3 separate regions of the Homo sapiens genome follow, and regions 2 and 3 are each linked to region 1. Evidence: promoter capture Hi-C in 16 types of primary human blood cells and fetal thymus (Javierre and others, 2016). All regions are on one chromosome and are shown on one strand. The core of a region is centred on a gene start or on the middle of the fragment in contact, and the rest is flanking DNA. Distances in the headings are between cores, read along the strand shown. Region 1 holds the start of PDLIM5 (PDZ and LIM domain 5). Region 2 holds the start of TIGD2 (tigger transposable element derived 2). Region 3 holds the start of TRMT10A (tRNA methyltransferase 10A).

Region 1 (3,922 bases), core at 929-3,428:
GCACATATGTAATTTTATTTATTTATTTTTTTAGAAACAGGGTCTTCCTTTGTCACCCAGGCTGGAGTGCAAAGACAAGATCATAGTTCACTGCAGCCTCGAACTTCTGGGCTCAGCAATACAAATAGCTGGGACCTGGGACTACAGGCACACTACACGACGCCCAGCTAATTTTTTGGATTTTTTTAGAGATGGGTCTTGCTATGTTGCCTAGGTTAACCTCAAACTCCTGCCCTCAAGCCATCTTCTCACCTCAGCCTCCCAAGTGCTAGGATTATAGGTGTCAGCCACTGCACCCTGCTCACGTAAGTAATTTTAAATTATCTAGTGGCCACATTTTTTTTAAAAAGTGAAATTAATTTTAATCAAATATTATTATTATTACTCTTTTTTTTTTGGTGCGGAGTCTTGCTCTGTCGCCCAGGCTGGAGGGCAGTGGCATGGTCTCGGCTCACTGCAACCTCTACCTCCCGGGTTCAAGTGATTCTCCTGCCTCAGCCTCCCAAGTAGCTGGGATAACAGGCATGCGCCACCACACCCGGCTAATTTTTGTATTTTTAGTAGAGACGGGGTTTCGCCATGTTGGCCAGGCTGATCTTGAACTACTGACCTCAGGTGACCCACCCGCTTCAGCCTCCCAAAGTGCTGGGATTATAGGCGTGAGCCGTCGCGCCCGGCCATAATCATGTATCATTTAACAAAACATAAAATATGATGATTTCAGCATATAATCAATATAAAAATTATTGAGGCATTTTACATTATTTTTTCATACCAAGTCGTCGAAATCCAGTGTGCATTTTACACTTCCAACGCATTTCAATTTGGGCATTATATTTTCAACTTTAGTCCTTAAATGTAGTGCTTAAAAGAAATGTTAACGACCTGGCGCGGTGGCTCATGCCCGTAATCCCAGCACTTTGCGGGGCCGAGGCGGGTTGGTCACCTGAGGTCAGGAGTTCGAGATCAGGCTGGCCAACATGGTGAAACCCCATCTCTACTAAAAATACAAAAAATTAGCCGGGCGTGGTGGCGCACGCCTGTAATCCCAGCTACTCAGGAGGCTGAGGCAGGGGAATCGCTTGAACCCGGGAGGTGGAGGTTGCAGTGAGCCGAGATTGCACCACTGATCCCAGCCTGGGAGACAGAGCAAGAATCCGTCTCAAAGAAAAAAAAAGTAAAGAAATGTTATCCTGCTTCAGTTTTAAATGTTAAATTATTTAAAATTACGTAAAACAAAAAATTCATGGTCTCAGTTACAGTAGCCACATTTCAACTGTTCGATAGCCACATGTGGCCAGTGGCTACCGTTAGGGAAAGAGCAGCTTTGGATCTTCGCCTTTGGAATTTTGCTTGCACTTCTGGGGGCCGGGGAGCTCACGGACCTCATGAAGTTCATCCTTGCTTTATATGCTCCTTGGTTAAGAATTGTCCTTTTCACGTTTTATAAGCCAATTCACAGTGTAACAGTCTAGTTACTTTCCGTATGTTCAGTGAACATTATTCACGTTTTCTTATGAATAAATTCCTCGGGCGTATCAAGCAACCCTATAGAAGGCTGGAAAGTGGACTATTGATTTGGATTTAGAAAAATAAACTGAAGATACAGTGGTTGAATCACTTTTGGCCGCTTTTATGTATCACTGTCTTCTGGTGTGATGGACAGGGTTAACTTCTGTTAGGGTTACTGGTTTTCACCTTCCTGACAGGTAAACTTCTGGGTCTGCACTTTTCAGAGCATGTAAAGCTCTTTCAAAAAAAAAAACGCAGGCAGTAACCGCTGAACTTGCATAGATAGAGATTTATCCAAAGTACCCTTCTATTTTTAGGCAGAGCAACTGCTTGCCAATTTAAATTTCTGGAGAGAAAAATGCACCCACTACAAAACGGACGAGCGGAGGGTTAGACCTTTGCCAGGTAGCGCTCAAAATCCGCTAAGACTACTCCCACCGAAACTCGGTAGCGCAGTTGTCTTTCCGCAGCTGCTTCAGCCAGCCCCAGCAAGCCCGAGCGCCCGGCGCCGCCGCCACCTTCCCCGCCCCTGCGCGGCGCGGCTGGGACTGGCCCAGAGGCGTGGCCGGGAGCGGAGGGGCGTGTCCTGGGTCGGGGGTGGGGCGAGGGAGAGCCAGGAGGCGGAAGTTCCCGCGGGCGGTGGGGACGGCGCCCTCACCGCGAGTCACTTGTCAGCCCTTGTCTGAGGCGGAGGCAGCCCCGCGCCGCGCCGGACCCGAGGTGAGTGGCGGCCGGCCGGCGATGCGCCTCTCGGATCTCCGGTGGGAGAAGGGAAAGAACCGGCCGCTGTGCGCCGAACGCGAGAAGGGAAGCCCGGTTGGGGACGAGGAGGGGGCGCTCCTCGGGCAGGGATGGCTCCTCAGGTGCTTTCTGGGCGCGGAGCGGCGGAGGTGGGAGAGCAGCTTGGGAAAAGGAGCGCCCGGAAAAGGGCAGCGCTGGAGTCCGCATGAGGCCAGAGGGCGAGCCCTGGGGTCCCCGCAGCCCGGGCCGACCGGGACCAGCGTAGCGGAGACGGGGACGCGGGAGGGCGCCCGGAGGTGGCGAGGGCCGGCAGGGACGGGCACTGCCGCTCCCACCCACCCGGCTGCCGGCGTCGCCCGGCACCACCGTGGTGTGGTGTCTGAGTGCCCAGTCCTGCGCCAGTCTCTTGGAGGGTAGGAAGCGGGACTCAAAGGAAAAGGCGCGTTAGTTTTTCTTTGCTCCCAGGCTACTGAGAAGCATTTATTTCTCCCCCAGATATTTACAGTTTTGTGTAACCTGTTTGGGGAAAACTTCTGCGCGTCCAGAAATAAAGCTCGTTTAAGAAACACATTTGTCATGAACACGAGATTTGTTAACACTTGAGTACTTGTTGGGGCTTTTGTAAGACTGTGCCTTCGGTGCGTTTTACAATAAGTGGAAAAAGGAAGGGCGTGTGGACAGGGCAGAGCTTGGAAGGAAAATTCGTGGCGGCGCTGGGCAGGGCAGATTTAGGGTGTGATCGCCAGATCCTATCCCAAGTCCGCCTTCCTGACGGGGAGGACGTCTGAACCCGCCTGCCACGGAAACGGCCCGTTCGGTAGCCTTATTTGGCCAACAAGGCTAGGCGCGAATCCCTCCTGGAAAACTGTCCTGTCGGCTGCTTTCATCCTGTGCCTGTGGCTTTAGTTCTTCAGCTCTACCTACATTCTCTCTCCATTGCGGGGAAAGAGAATCTCAAGATATTTCTCTTTAATTTCAGGCCTTTTTTTTTGTCACTCTGTGTAGTTCATCTTGAGTTCTCCTTTCTCCCCTCTCACCCACTAATGAAGCTGAGATACAAGTGTGGGAAATACCAAGCTTCCTTCCCTAGTACTAGAGCAAAGACATTGTTTAGACTTTCCCTAAAAGAAAATCCATAACTCTACAGAAATTCCAACCTTTTCGACGTGTTTGAAAGAGTATGCTGCTATTTCCTGCCTGCTTGGTATTTGAGGAAGGGCTTGGGCACTAATAACCAGATGGAGGAGTCTTGGAAAGGCCAATAAAAATATTGCCATTGCTTGGGGCAGAGACTGTTTTAAGGCAGATGAATTCCAAATGAAGCTAGCAGAAGAAGCATCTAGAAATGAACGGACAGTGACTAGAAATGAAATGACACTGGTTTTGTAGTGTGGCTGTGACCTTGCCAGTGCTAGGAATTTTAATAACAAATGAGAGAAGTTAGGAAGGGAATCCCCAAGTAAAGGGAAGTTGCAAGTACATGGGTTGATAATCTAAATGAAATACATTTTCTTGTAGGGAAGAATGGGGCCAGAGGAAGTTGAGCCCAACTTTCATATTATTCCCCAGACACAAGTTAAAGATTAATAAAGGAGGGCAGGCTGCCTGTGAAATATCAGTTGGCTTTACACGATTCTGATTTGTATCGTGTCAATATCAGGACAGTCCT
Region 2 (3,922 bases), core at 487-2,986, 5.3 Mb before region 1:
ATCCAGATTTGAACTTACACAAGGTGATAAAAAGGGAACAGCTATAAGACATAAAACAGCAAACTGGAGAATCCAGGAGGAACAGAGAAAAATGCAAATGGTATCTGGAAGAAAATTAAATCCTAGAGATACTGTGGAAAAGAGAGGAAGAGTAAGAGGCAGGATTCCTTTGTATTTAAATATCCTGGGACACAGCTACTCCAGCAGACTCGGGGGAGAGGCGGAAAGGCAGGCGGCTGACATCTGGTTACAGGCTGCCTCATTTCCACATGGGTGGCAGTCGGTAAAGTGCTGTTCTAGCAGTCTTTCACGCTCTTCACAGGTATCAGGGAAAATAAGAATATTTTGTAAAGTTATATAAAACTACCATGAAGTAAGTTATAATGTACCCAAAACAGGCAACCAGGACTTCCAGAAAGGGACTGGCTTGTTGGAAGCCAAATGGAAGGCAGGGAAGAGGGGAGGTCTAAAAGCAGGTATTCTCCAAAAGCCACTTACAACCTCACAACATAACTAGATCAAAGAATTTCTGTCATGCCAGATAGTGGAAGGCTGCTATGTTGAGAAAGGCAATTGAGCAGTTTTGGCGGCGGAGTCAAACAGAAGGCTTAGAATCAACATCTGTTTTCTACAGTATGCTCGCTTTGATTTCCATCTCCAAGTTTCTGAAATTCCAGAAACAGTATATGGCCTTGTCAAAGAAATGACGAATTACTATGTTACTTTGTGTTAACGAAAAGGTTACATTTATGTTCATATGGAAGAGATAATTCACTGAAGAATTTCCAATTTTTCAAACTGACACGCACACACAAGACGGAAAGGAAGGCAGCCTGACCGCGTTTCCCAGGAAACAGGTGGTGCAAGGTGGAGGTGCACCACTCTCTCCTCCAGGAAGGCGGTGACCCTTCCGCAGATGTCTCCGTTGGAAACAAATAAAGGGAGTATCAGTCAAAGCGCAATTCCCCGATTCCACTTGAGAAGCCCCGGGCGTCGAGGCACGGCAGGAAATTTACCACGACGCCTCCCACTGGCTCAAGGGTCTCCCAGGTGCTGTCGATTTTGCAAAGGGTCCGTCTCTACAGCGACTGTGACGAGTTTCGGAGCATCAGCACCGGGGAGCGCTGACCCGACACTCGGCTCTACCGCAGCCCGCCGCGCCTCGGCACCCTGGGCTTGTCCGGCTGGGTGTTGCCGAGCGAACGCCCCAGCTCCTGCCCGGAACCCACGTCCGCCGGCTCCTACCGTGCCTCATGATCCTCGCTCGGGCTAGCACTTTCCACGCGCGCTGACTCTGGGCTCCGACACCTGGACCGCCTCCGCAAGGCGGCGCGGCTGCTGTTTGTAAACACGCCCCACGTGCGCTCGCCCTGCCCCATTCGCAGCCCGCTCCCGGCACGCGAGGATCCTCCGCTTTCCCCCCAGCACTGGGGGGGTGAGATTTTAAAATTTCCCCCTAGGGAGAAAAGAGCCTCGTCGGCAGAGCCGGGCCACTGGGAAAAGCGCCAGGACAAGGCGAGCGTGTGCCTCCCCCTGCCGGCCAGGGAGGCACTGCGGCCCCGAAACGGCCAGGCGGTGAGTGGAACCCACGCAGCGCCTAGAGACGCACCCCTGCCGGGCCCCCGCCCCTCCCGCCCGCTCGCCGGAGTCCCCTCCCCCGGGCCGCGTGCGCTCACCCGCGCAGGCCCCGCCCCCTCGCCGGCACAACGTTCTGCGGGGGCGCGCGCGTGCTCTCTAATCCCCCGCCTTCCGGCTCCGGCGGCGACGCTCGTCCCTCTCCGCTCGTCCCTCGCCGCTGCCGGGCCACCAGTGCCAGCCTGCCTCAGGAGACTCCATTTGCGCTTAGTGTGGTCTGGGCGCCGCGCAGGCGGTCCCAGGGCGATGCCCGGGGCCGGCGGACTGGCGTTCCCTGTGCCAAGCGGCCGCCCGCTGGCTGGCTGGCTGCAGCAGTGACATCCTGGTCGCCGGCGTCCAGGCGGAATCCGGGCTCCCTCCGCGGGAGGAAAGACGTCCCGCGCTCTGAAGCTCGCCCAGCGGGGAGAGGCCCTCGCTAACACGGCTTCTCCCTGACCTCTTAATTTCAGGAGGTAGGCTCTTCAGGTCCCTCTCTCTGTCACCCCAGATTATGCCTGAAAGCATTATTTGTCGTATTTAGCTATCACATTGATAGGAGGCGTTAATTTTCTCAACATAGTTGCAGGATAAATGTGGATAATGCCACAGATCCTGATGTTGAATTGAAAGAAAATGTTTTTGGTATTTTCCTTTAGGTTTCGGAGCCTCCGAGTATCTCTACAGCCCCCACAGGAACTGCTTCTGTTGGTCCATCGAGGATCGTCTTTCACCAGGATTATTGTAACATCATCTTCACCGAGCCTGCCACCCCATAGCCTCTACCTTGGGTCCTCATTTCCACCGATGCAGTTTTTTTGATGCTTTCTTTAGTAATGTGACATCACATGTCCACTATCCTCCTTTCCAGCTGCCAAATCTAGTAGGTTTAAGTCGCTTTTAAAGTAGAGTTTTCTGCCTGTTCCACTTTCACCTTATTTGCACTGTTCACTTCTGTCCGGGTCATCTTCTCTTGCGTATGATTTCCACAAGCACTCACTTGCGCAACCTATAGCAGAGTCCGTGCCTAGAGAGACAGCATTCCATACAATCCACTGCTTGACAAAGACCACATAGTCAGAGGGTGAGTTTTCCCATTGTATTTTCCTGTATGTCAAGTTTGCAAGTCCTCTCTTGACTTAAACTGTTTACTCCCTAGCACATTTCCTAAAATACTTCCACCTGAGATTTAGTGGCTATTCTGGCAAAGAACATTACCTGCAAGGATGGCAAGAATTGAGTATGCAATAGTACTGTTTTAGAAGCCTTACCAGTACAGTTTCTAGCCTCTAGTGTGATTGCACTTCATGAAAGACCCTGAACCCTGAGGAGGAAGAAAGATAGAAGATAAGAGTTAATTGGCGCTAGGCTTTGTTGTAGGAAGTTTGTAAGTTTTAAAATAGCAAGTAGATTCACGTAGACCTTGTCAGGAAATTGGTCACTATCCATCTAGGCCCTAGAAGTGAGAGGAGGAATCTTACGAACTCATTTTCTAGTTGCTTTGTATTCAAATCTTAGTTGTTAATTATCTTGTTCTAGTAATCACCTAAAATATTAGACACTTAAAATGTTGGGGAAACGTAAGCGTGTGGTGTTGACAATTAAGGACAAGCTTGACATTATTAAGAAACTTGAGGAAGGCATCTCTTTCAAAAAACTTTCCGTGGTGTACGGAATTGGTGAATCCACAGTTCGTGATATTAAAAAGAACAAAGAAAGGATTATAAACTATGCAAACAGTTCAGATCCTACCAGTGGAGTATCCAAACGTAAATCTATGAAGTCATCAACATACGAGGAGCTTGATAGAGTTATGATAGAGTGGTTTAACCAACAGAAAACAGATGGGATTCCAGTGTCCGGAACGATTTGTGCAAAACAAGCCAAGTTCTTTTTTGATGCTTTGGGAATGGAAGGTGATTTTAATGCATCGTCAGGCTGGCTAACTCGATTTAAGCAGCGCCATGGTATTCCAAAGGCTGCTGGTAAAGGAACAAAATTAAAAGGAGATGAAACTGCTGCCAGAGAATTTTGTGGTAGCTTTCAGGAATTTGTTGAAAAAGAGAATCTACAACCAGAGCAAATTTATGGTGCTGATCAAACTGGATTGTTTTGGAAATGTCTACCATCAAGGACATTAACTCTTGAAACTGACCAAAGTACTTCTGGGTGTAGGTCAAGCAGAGAGAGAATCATCATTATGTGTTGCGCAAATGCCACAGGTTTACACAAACTTAATCTTTGTGTTGTGGGGAAGGCCAAAAAGCCCCGAGCATTCAAAGGCACTGACCTTTCAAACCTTCCTGTGACA
Region 3 (3,922 bases), core at 966-3,465, 5.1 Mb after region 1:
TTTTCATTCATTCAACCAAGTTCAACAAATGTTCAAGAACGTATTTTACAGTAACTATAAAAATATTTGTGTGAGGTCGGGCGCAGTGGCTCATGCCTGTAATCCCAACACTTTGGGAGGCTGAGGTGGGCGGATCACCTGAGGTCAGGAGTTCAAGACCAACATGGCGATACCTCGTCTCTACTAAAAATACAAAAATTAGCCAGGCGTGGTAGTGGACGCCTGTAATTCCAGCTACTCGGGAGGCTGAGGCAGAAGAATCGCTTGAACCCGGGAGGCAGAGGTTGCAGTGTGCCATGATCGCAGCACTGCACTCCAACTAGGGCAACAGAGTAAGACTCCGTCTCCAAAAAAAAAAAAAAATTATATATATATATATGTGTGTGTGTGTGTGTGTGTGTGTGAAATTTTACTCCTGCATAAAATTTTAAAAATTTGTGGGGTTCATTCGCAGACATAGGTTATTAAGTGGGCTTACAAACTATCTCACTTTGTAAGGCAAGGACACATCCTACATCAATGAGCACCAAAAGAAAAAAAAAAGTTTTTTAAAACTGCATTAAGTTATGGATTGGGATAAAATAAATAATCGTCGTTAATTTATGACAGTCTCCTTTTCAGAAAAATCTCAACGAATGTGGGAATAATGCAGATTGGAATTAATGACTTGACAGCGATAGCAAAGGAATGCCTTTTTTTTTTTTTTTTTTTTTTTTTTTTGAGAGGGAGTCTTGCTAGGTCGCCCAGGCTGGAGTGCAGTGGCGCAATCTCGGCTCACTGCAACCTCTGCCTCCCGGGTTCAAGCGATTCTCCTGCCTCAGCCTCCCGAGTAGCTGGGACTACAGGTGCGCGCTACCACGCCCAGCTAATTTTTGTTATTTTTAGTAGAGACGGGGTTTCACCACGTTGGCCTGGATGGTCTCCATCTCTTGACCTCGTGATCCACCCGCCTCGGCTTCCCAAAGTGCTGGGATTACAGGCATGAGCCACTGCGCCCGGCCTTTCTTGTTTGTTTGAGACGGAGTTTCGCTCTTGTTGCCCAGGCTGGAGTGCAATGGCGCAATCTCGGCTGATTGCAACCTCCGCCTTCTGGGTTCAAGTAGTTCTCCTGCCTCAGCCCCCCCAGTAGCTGGGATTACTGGCATGCGCCACCACGCCCGGCTAATTTTGTATTTTCAGTAGAGACGGGGTTTCACCATGTTGGTCAGGCTGGTCCCGAACTCCTGACCTCAGGTGATCCACCCGCCTTGCCCTCCCGAAGTGCGGGGATTACAGACGTGAGTCACCGCGCCCGGCCAGGAATGCCCTTTTAAAAGACATGCGGACTAAACGTGGAGGAGCGAAAAGCCCTTTGTTCACTTCAGTTGTCAAGCCTTTTGGGCAGAGGGTTGGGAATGGAAGGGGCAGATGAAATTCTTTCAGAAAGTGACAAGTAATGTGTTGCCATCCTCTTCATATCTGTAGAAAAATTCCCAAATTTAAAGTATTTCAGTGAAATCAAGTAACACTTCGATCTTTATAAAACTGTCCTCAGCTCACAGCACCTGCAGCAACTTCCCCTCGGGCTCTCTACATTTCAGAGAGTTCAGCGACGTCAGCCCTTTGCAGGAAAAATGAGGTAAGGCAGCTTTAAAGAGGTAAAGCCCACGGTCTCTAGCCACGAAGTGGCAGGGCCATAACACGCTTTCCGGCCCTTTAGAGTACAGATTTCCCACTGATTCTTTGCAAACTCACTTTTCACATACTACGGGCCGATGGCAACCCCAAAACACACGCCGACGGAAAGCGCCCCACCACGGGGCGGAGCCTCGCCCACTATCCCTTCTAGGCTCCCAGCCAGCAAACGCATTTCAGAGACGGGATTAAGCTGTCTCTGGCGAACCAGGGAGCAGCTGGGTAGGCCGCGGGGGGCGCCTGTCATCGACGTCATTTCCTTCAGCAAGAGCGCCGCAGGAAACCACTTCCACACCACTGCTCCCCTCTCCCCCGGAAGCCCTTGTTGCTAGTAGGGGGCTGCATGGCACGCGCCCCTTTGCGTCCAGAGAATACCATAGTGCGGGGGAGCGCCAACCAGTGCCAGGACACTTACCGAGCTGAAGAGTTGACAGGGAAGTGAAATCTCAGAAAGAAAGCCTTTCTGGGTTGGCCTGGTTACGGCTCACGCTTCCTTCCACAGAAACTTCAATTCCCAGAGGCAGGGGCGGTAGTTACGCAGTGGAGGCTACGGCGGTTGCGTCTTACGTCATCGAACTGCGGCCATTTCGAACCCGCAATGGAAGAAAGGGGAGGGGTTTATGCGGGGCGGGGTCTGGAGTTAGTGTTTTGGGAGTGGGAGGTAGTTACAGTGATGTCTGTTTTTTCCCGTTCAAGAATTAAGTGTGTACCTGCAGACGTGTATTCATTCATATATTCTTGTGAGTATTGGATGAAGGAATTAAGATAGTCCCACTGTTAAAAATGCAAAACAACGAAGAAAGGCTCCTAATTTTTCTGTGTTGAAAATGAGAGAAAAACATCTCTTGCCTATATTATTTTTAATTTATACAGAAAATTACCATATCACATGATTTTACATAACTCAAGTGGAAAATTAAATTCAAAAAGTGAGTCAGATTCACAATAAAATGCATTTAAATTTAGAATCTGTAAGGCTTTTTTATGGCTGAAGTAAAACAGCCATAGCTTTACTCTTTATTCATTCCTTGAGCTATTTTTCCTATGCTGTTTTGCAAAACATCAGATGACATTTCATTGTTTATAATACTTGACCTTATATAATCTTTTGCTATATATAGATCATGTCAACTGAGAGAGAAATGAAATACAACCCCGTAGATTGTCATTTTCTATTTAGTTTTTTTCTCCTCTACTTCTAATAGGTGATTATTGCAGAATTTGAAGGTAAGAATGAGGTTTGCATCTTGAATAGAAGACTGGCTTCTCATATAGAAAGAATTTTGAAGTAAATTATCCTTGAAGATATTTGAACATGTTTAAAGGCTTCAGTGAATAGAAAATTAAATCCAGAATTTGAGATTCTCTAAAAGAGCCGAAATTTCTTTGACTTTAGTTACAAAACTAAAGTCACTCTTGCCATAAGCCCTTAAATTTTACTTGAAACACTGTATCAGCTATAACACTGTTGTGAGTCCCTCTTCTGTTTCTTCCTCATCTCAAACCTAAAAGATCTTTGTTAACTGAGCACTGGCAAAAAAGTCTGGATCCACTTCTGATCTGTTAGTAGGGCATCTTTTTTCAGCTGCCTCCATATGAGGGCAAAGAGTAGCTGAGGGAGGATTAGTAATTGGATATGTAGCCCTTCACATGTAGGTCATTAAATTCAGGCTGGCAAAGTGATGTGCCAAATCTTTCCACAGCTGTTCAGTTGCTCCTATGGGATCTGTTTTATAAATAATTATACAGTTTTTTCAGAGTTAATACCTGGCCTCCTTAGATATTTTAAACAAAGTTTTAAAGCAAAAAAAACCACTTCATATTCTAATAATGAAGTCAATAAATTTTCTTTTGACATAGACATTTAACTTTGTAGTCATTTGGTGCAAAATTTAAAATGATTCTATTATTAATCCAAAGTAAGCACCAAAAGAGCACCAGCAAAAGTCAATTTAACAAAAAATTGAAACATATAGAAAGTTTAAGACGGTGAAATCATGTGAAACAATATTTTCATTGATTTGTAAAATTTATGTATTTATTTATTTGACACATGTATCGAGTTCTATGCGTTTTGTCTTAGTATTGGTGATACAGAAATGACGAAATCATGCTCTCTGTGCTTAAGGAATCCTTAATCTAATAGGGGAGCCAGCAGTAAATAAATACCATACAACATGTACTTGAGATGCTTGTACTTTGAAAGAAGCAACTAAATGCTCCTTGAGGCAGAGGACATAGTTTTGGA

What was found. The method cuts DNA at HindIII sites, captures the fragments that hold promoters and counts their contacts. A CHiCAGO score of 5 or more calls a contact.
Region 2: the fragment with the promoter of TIGD2 here is called in contact with the fragment with the promoter of PDLIM5 in region 1 in 2 of 17 cell types (naive B cells and total B cells); the score reaches 9.6 in naive B cells.
Region 3: the fragment with the promoter of TRMT10A here is called in contact with the fragment with the promoter of PDLIM5 in region 1 in 7 of 17 cell types (naive CD8 T cells, non-activated CD4 T cells, naive CD4 T cells and 4 more); the score reaches 15.7 in naive CD8 T cells.

Annotation. Positions count from the first base shown.
Region 1 is chr4:94,449,764-94,453,685 of GRCh38, forward strand. It overlaps PDLIM5 (PDZ and LIM domain 5), which reads left to right and starts at 2,179. Exons shown (of 13, transcript NM_006457.5): 1 at 2,179-2,232. RefSeq lists silencers at 1,829-2,248, 2,419-2,678. The HindIII fragment of the contact is 3,776 bases long and covers 1-3,328 here.
Region 2 is chr4:89,109,797-89,113,718 of GRCh38, forward strand. It overlaps TIGD2 (tigger transposable element derived 2), which reads left to right and starts at 1,737. Exons shown (of 2, transcript NM_145715.3): 1 at 1,737-2,087; 2 at 2,271-3,922. The coding sequence starts at 3,179. RefSeq lists enhancers at 1,245-1,354, 1,385-1,464 and a silencer at 1,545-1,994. The HindIII fragment of the contact is 10,355 bases long and covers 1-3,221 here.
Region 3 is chr4:99,561,824-99,565,745 of GRCh38, forward strand. TRMT10A (tRNA methyltransferase 10A) reads right to left here and starts at 2,216. Exons shown (of 8, transcript NM_001134665.3): 1 at 2,090-2,216. It also overlaps a transcript of MTTP not described here. RefSeq lists enhancers at 1,320-2,519, 1,755-1,884, 2,235-2,294. The HindIII fragment of the contact is 8,482 bases long and covers 1-3,922 here.